Linked DNA regions of Homo sapiens: region 2 is linked to region 1. Evidence: promoter capture Hi-C in human tissues and cell types (Jung and others, 2019). All regions are on one chromosome and are shown on one strand. Each heading gives the region's core, a stretch centred on a gene start or on the middle of the fragment in contact. The rest is flanking DNA. Distances are from core to core; before and after follow the strand shown.

Region 1 (3,180 bases), core at 71-2,570:
GAGTCCGAGAGGCACAGGGCGGAGATCCAGAGAAAGAGGGGACGGGGGGTCGGAGAGGAGAGACGGGAGAAAAAGGGACGGAGACGCAGAGTGGGAGAGAGACCCAGAAAGAATGGAGACGGGGGTGGCAGAGACAGGTGGACAGATTCACAGAGATGGGGACAGAATGCCGGGAAGGAATAGACACACAGAAAGACAGCGAACCAGAGAAAGAGAGACGGAAGTTCAGGAATAGGGGGGCAGGGACAGGGTAGGTGGAGGGTTGGGCAGGTGAGAGAAAAAATGACAGCTCTGTAATTTCACTGTAATTACCCAACCCCCATCCCCTGCGCGCTGTACCCCCTTCCCCTCCCCCACCATCTGTAAGGGGCAGGAAGGGGCTCTATTCCTGGGGCACATCCCTCATCCCTAGACTCCATGTGACCCCATGACGCCCCGCCCAAGCCCGTGTCACCACCGTGTGAGCACCCGACACACCCCCTCCCTGGGACCCCAGGGGTCCAGACTCCCGGACCAAAAGGAAGAGGAGGCTGGGGCCTACACTCTTGTGAACTAAGCGGGGAGGACGTTGGGGACGTTGGTGCCTGGGTCCTTAGGGTGGACGGGCTTCAGAGCCGGCGCTTTTGGGTCCTGGGCGCTAAGGGATCTAGGGGCCTAAACACCTGAGTAATTGAGTAGATTAAGGTTGGGAAGATGGACTCCCCGCACGCAGGTTTCTATGGGACCCCACCCCACGGCACCTGAGTCCCTAAGGGGGTAGGGTGTCCGAAGTGGGTGAGATGGGGGTTAGAACTCACAGCTGGCCGGCTCTTTGGGCTTGCTGGTCCCCTGCAGAAGGCTCCGCAACCCAAGCAGCGCTCCCCCGCCAGGGGGTGTCCCGGCCGGGCCGCCCAGCAGCAGAGGGGCCGGGGTCCTGTCGCTCACAGGCCGCGCCATCGCCTGGCACCTGCCCCCAGGCTCACGGGTTCATGGAGAGGCGAAGGGCTGGCCTGCCAGTCACCAGCACACTCCAGTGGTTTGGACGAGTGTCTGCCCAGGGGCGGGCGAGTGTAGCCTGCAACCCTCCAGTATCCAGAACGCTGCAAATCCTAGGAGCGACGGGGATTTGAGGTCCTCGGTGCAGAAACGTGCAACTCAAGAGGGTCCCGGGAGATCATGCAATCTGGGCGAGGGGGTGTCCAGATCAAGCGGTCGGCTCTTTGCAACCGAGGGTGAGAGGGGACTCAAGGCGCTCCTTCTACAAGGTGGGCGAGCCTGGCTCTTGCAAAATCTGCAGCTCTCGCAACGGAAGGCGCTTTGCAATCTGCACCGAGAGGTGTGCGCGGAGGGGCGGAGGAGGGGGCAGGAGGAGGCGGCCGCCTTGAGGCGTGGCCAAAGCAAACTTCTTTCGCGGAAAAAAAAATCCAAACCAAAACACCCGACGCCACAGCGCGCGCCCCTCCTCCGGGTCCCCGCCCGGCGCGTCCAGCCCCGCCAGCCTCTATGGGCATGCAACCCAGCCGCGTGCCTCCCTCCGGCTGCAAACACGGACCAATCGTCTCCGACACCTTGAGACGCACAGCCAATGGGGCCTCTGGGTCCGCCAGGGCCCAGGAGGGCGCGTGAGGGGCTCAGCGCGTGAAGTTGCCTTGCCTTTCGGTGGGAGGCGGGACACTGACCTACATTTGCCCAATGGGAGGCGGTACTGGGGGGCGGGACCGTGACCCAGTTTGGGCCAATGAGGCAGGCGGGAGGGGGAAGCACATGGCTCTGCTCGTGCTGCCTGATGGCGAGGGGGGTGATGGGGGGAAAAGGGGCGCCGCTTAAAGGGGCCGCGGTCCTAAAGATGGTTTTGAGAAGCAGGAAGCCAAAATACCGAGAGCGGAGGTTTAGAAAGAGGAAGATTGGTTTCCGGAAGAAGTCTGTTCTTTAATACCCAAATGTTTCCCCACCGCGCCTAGAATCAGACCACTGAGAAAACAGGAAGTATTCTGTCCCTTTAATAGCTTTGTTTTAGGGGTAACTCCCCTCGCCTTGTGGGGAGGCTTAGGACGGGCGGGTGCAATCCTCGAAGGGGAGTCTCAGCGACCATGGGGGACACCATCCACTGTAAGACAGAGAACAACGGCAGGGGGCGTCAGTATAGGATGGAAGGGGCGGGGGGTGTGCAGGGGGCGTGGGCTGCGCCGCGCTGGGCCCTACCGTCGGAAGTCTGCGAGCGGGGAACCAGAATGTACTAGGTCGAGAAGCACTGGGCTGAACCACAAGAAGCCAATAGGAGGGGGGAATCGGGACGTCCAGATTCAGCAGTAGGCTGAACTACTTGAAGGTCTTCATGGGGGGGGGGGGGTGTGGACTGTACCATGTTGCGAAGCCGGGGGTGTGTGAGATTCCTGGGCTAAACCACAGGGAGGCAGAGGTGGAGGGAAGGGGTTGTACCTTGTAGATTCTCAGTAAGGGGGAAGGGAGCATCAGATTGTGGAACAGCGTAAGGTAGTACGACTTGGAAAGGGAGAGAGGATCCAAATTGTACCATTTTGGAAATTCACAGTAATAGGAAGCACAGAACAGTAGGTAATTGGACCATAGGAAGGCAGGGGTCAAGGGTTATAGACCAAGTTACAAAGCAGTGAAGAGGAAAGACAAATCGTGGGCTAGCAATGGCCTAGGGCTGGCAGGTGGACTGTACCACATAGACATGTAGGGAAAGAGAGAAAAAGAGACAGCTCACGAGGCTAGACCATATAGACGCAGGAAGGAGGATGGGACTGAATCACACTGAGACACCAAGGGGAGACACATATAAGAGGGTTAGCCCAAGACTTAGAGGGGGTGCAGACTGGACCATACCATGCAGGCGGTAGTTGGGGCCTCGGCAGCGCCTCTCGGGGTGCCGGGGGTCCCTGTTGCCCCTCAGTGCCCTGTGGGCCAAGGGCTGCAGGGGCCGGCTGTTACCGCTGAGGCTCTGGAAGATCTGAGATGGAGGATTCTGGCTCAGGAGTCTCAGGGAGTGCATCTGCAGTGGAAGGAGGGTGGGAAACTGGGAGTGAATAGTGAATGGTCTTGGTGACGTCACGCAGGAAACCCCGCCCCTGGGAGCAGGTGGGCGGGGTCTGTTCTCAGCCCCACCCACCCCCAAGGTGGTCTGACCCTCTTACCTACTTGAGTTCAGTCTATGAGGAGAGGGAGGGCAGGTGAGCA
Region 2 (3,081 bases), core at 288-2,787, 300 kb before region 1:
TTTTTTTTTTTTGAGACGGAGTCTCGCTCTGTCACCTAGGCTGTAGTGCAGTGGTGCGATCTTCACTCACTGCAACCTCCGCCTCCCGGGTTCAAGCAATTCTCCTGCCTCAGCCTCCTGAGCAGCTGGGATTACAGGCGCCCACCACCACGTCCGGCTAATTTTTGTATCTTTAGTAGACACGGGGTTTCACCATGTTGGCCAGGCTGGTCTTGAACTCCTGACCTCAGGTGATCCACCCACCTCAGCCTCCCAAAGTGCTGGGATTACAGGCGGGAGCCACCGCGCCCAGCCCAGTCTCCCTCTCTAGGGACTGAACATTTGGGGTCCTAGAGAGGGAGACTTCCCCTGTCTCCCCAAAGGCTGCCTCTAGCCCATATGACACGTTAGCAAAAATTAGGAGGCACCCCTTCTTCTGGCTGACCCAGCCCCACACCAGGATACATGTAGGGGTATGGGCTGGGTCTTACAGCCACCCACCCGTGGCTGTGTTCCTTTGTGCAGTTAACAATCTGCACAGGCCGGGTGCGGTGGCTCACGCCTGTAATCCCAGTACTTTGGGAGGCTGAGGCAGGTGGATCACCTGAGGTCAGGAGTTCGAGACCAGCCTGGCCAACATGGTGAAACCCCGTCTCTACTGAAAATACAAAAAATTAGCCAGGCGCGGTGGCAGGCGCCTCCCAGCTACTCGGGAGGCTGAGGCAGGAGAATCACTTGAACCCAGGAGGCGGAGGTTGCAGTGAGCCAAGATCATGCCATTGCATTCCAGCCTGGGCAACAAGCGCGAAACTCCATCTCAAGAACAAAAAAAAATCTGCAAATCTGCACAATCGCACATGGCTACGCTATCTCCTCTGTTCATCAGGCCCTGGGACTCCTCTGGAATCAGATCCTTCTAAGATCCTCTTCTATGACTGTCTTTGTTTCACCGACCATGAACCCAGCCTCTTTTTAGGACTACAGCTTTCTCTGTCTGGGACCCCAAGACCTAGCTAGAGTCCCTCCCCTCTTTCCAGGATTCAAATGCTTTCCTTCCCTCCAACTCCTGCAGCCATCCCACTCATCTAGATTTTTAAAAATAATTTTTTAACCACTCCTACAGAGCAGGGTTACCCTAAAGGCAGTGCGTTAAGAGTAGCCTCATCCAGACTTATTAAACATGATTTATTACTTTGGGACAGGAGACGGGAGAAATTGATAGACCAATAAATATTGCACAGGCTGCTGGTGGTGGGGAGATCCAGACCGAGGTAGTTTCTGTAGAAAGGGTGAAAGACCTGGGCGAGGAAGGCACCTGAGGTTGCCGGGAGCCAGGTTGGGAGCGAGTCTTGGTGGCGAGGGTGGTTTCTGGTTCACCTACCTAGCACAAGGTCTCCAACTCCTTCAGCCTAGACACCCTGATCAGCAGCTGACCAGTTGGCCTGCCATTTAAGCAGCAGCAATTGATAGCAAGATCAGGTTTCCTTTAGAAATTCTTATTGGTTCCTTCCCTGCAGCGACAACCGGCTGCCCAAAGTTGATGGAACCCAGCAGCTGTCACTGGACGTTTGCCAGGAGGCAGGGCTAACGGCCTTGGTGCACATGATGGGCAGTTTGCCCGGAGCGGGCTGAAAAAGACAATGATATATAGTCTCGGGAGGGCGCAGCTTTAACTCTTCTACCTGGCGGTTTACAGAAGCCAGAGCTGAGCAGCTGTGATTGGCAGACACCCTCAGCTCCTCAGCCAAACCACACTTGGATGTTTATGGTGAGGGTGGGACTAAGAAATGGAACAGAAGCAGAGCTAAATCGCTTTGATTGGCTGTTCATCGAAGGGGCGGGGAAGACTTAACAACTGCTAGCTGCTTTGATTGGCTGCTTTGCTTAAGCACACAGTGCAGCAAAAATAATCACCTGTCAGTTATTGGAAGTTGGAGTGAAAAGTATAATAACCGTAATTGACAGCCTGTCGTGAAGGAGGCGGGGCTTAGTTCCTAGCCTGCTGACTGGGCAGGGAGGTAGGTTCTACTCAGGAGATGTTACTGCTGGGCGTGGCTTGCGGGGGCTCGGAAGTGATCGGAGCCACTGGGTCTAGTTTGGGGAAACCCGGGGGTGGGTACAATCCCATGCTGGGGGTCAGGGCCTGCAGATGCGCCAGGGCCCGAGTTCCGTTGAAGGTCACCTCACAGCCTGACTTGGCTAGGAGCCAGTTCTCCACCTCCGACCGGAGCCACCTGGAGGTCTCTGCAAGGGGAGAGGCAGGTGTTCTGAGGTCACACTGAGATCGGGGAAGATTCGAGGGAGCAGCAAGGAGGGGCGTAGGGCAAAGAACAGGAAGGGCCTGGGTTTGGGAGAAGCCTAGGAGTGATCTTGAGGCTTGGAGGGGAGCGGAACAAGGCCCAGGAGGGTCGAGAGGGCCAGAAGGCCCAGCTCTGGGGCTTTCGTCTGGGGACCAGTCAGGGGCTCTTGGGCAGGGAAGGTGGGGGCTCCTGTAGGCAAGGGGACCACCTGGAGCCCACACAGGGAGCGCGCAGGATCTCTTGTAGGGAGAGTGTCAGCTCAGGTAGAGGAAAGAATGACAGGAGGGGGCCGTGCCATGGAGCCAAGACTCCCAACCAGGCTGAGGTTAAGAAAGGGCTGTCACATCAGGCACCAAGATCGGAGTCTGGATTCGGAGGTCCTGTCTGCTGAGGGCCGGGGTCTCTTCGCAAACCCGTCAGGTTCACCCGTGGGAACTGGGGGTGGGGACGCATCTCGCTGGGGCGGGGCCTCGCGGGGGTGTGGCCCCTGGGGGCAGGGTCCCAGGGCCACGTCCTACCTTCGGGCGAGCCTTGAGTGCCCCCTGGCCGCCGGGCCAGGAAGCTGTGAGCCAGCAGCGCCTCCTTGGTGTGCTCGTCCTGCGCGCGCAGGGCCAGGGCGCTGAGCAGCTCCGAGTTGTTGGACGTACTGCGATAGTACAGCATGTGCGCCAGCTCCAACGCCTGCGCGCTGCGCCGCTGCCCGAACATCTGCAGGCGGGACAGCGCCCCGTGGGCTCAGTTCGGGGTGCGCCCCCACCCATACACAGCCCCCGGGGTCACCCCCGCTGGCACGGCCCACGCC

Evidence for each region. The method cuts DNA at HindIII sites, captures the fragments that hold promoters and counts their contacts. A contact is called where the count stands out against the background at its distance.
Region 2: a contact is called between a fragment that was not itself captured here and the fragment with the promoter of DBP in region 1, in 1 of the 25 tissues and cell types used here (dorsolateral prefrontal cortex).

Annotation. Positions count from the first base shown.
Region 1 is chr19:48,636,059-48,639,238 of GRCh38, forward strand. It overlaps DBP (D-box binding PAR bZIP transcription factor), which reads right to left and starts at 1,321. Exons shown (of 4, transcript NM_001352.5): 1 at 798-1,321. The coding sequence starts at 936. It overlaps CA11 (carbonic anhydrase 11), which reads right to left. Exons shown (of 9, transcript NM_001217.5): 8 at 2,830-2,995; 9 at 1,888-2,086. The coding sequence ends at 2,061. It also overlaps the pseudogene SEC1P. RefSeq lists silencers at 909-1,028, 1,259-1,368, 1,539-1,758 and an enhancer at 2,369-2,538. The HindIII fragment of the contact is 3,626 bases long and covers 1-2,246 here.
Region 2 is chr19:48,331,211-48,334,291 of GRCh38, forward strand. TMEM143 (transmembrane protein 143) reads right to left here. Exons shown (of 8, transcript NM_018273.4): 7 at 2,798-2,987; 8 at 1,146-2,223. The coding sequence ends at 2,009. Among named protein-coding and RNA genes, the nearest start is that of EMP3, 7.2 kb to the left of the region's middle. RefSeq lists enhancers at 2,048-2,783, 2,174-2,263, 2,274-2,323 and a silencer at 2,664-3,081. The HindIII fragment of the contact is 4,580 bases long and covers 1-3,081 here.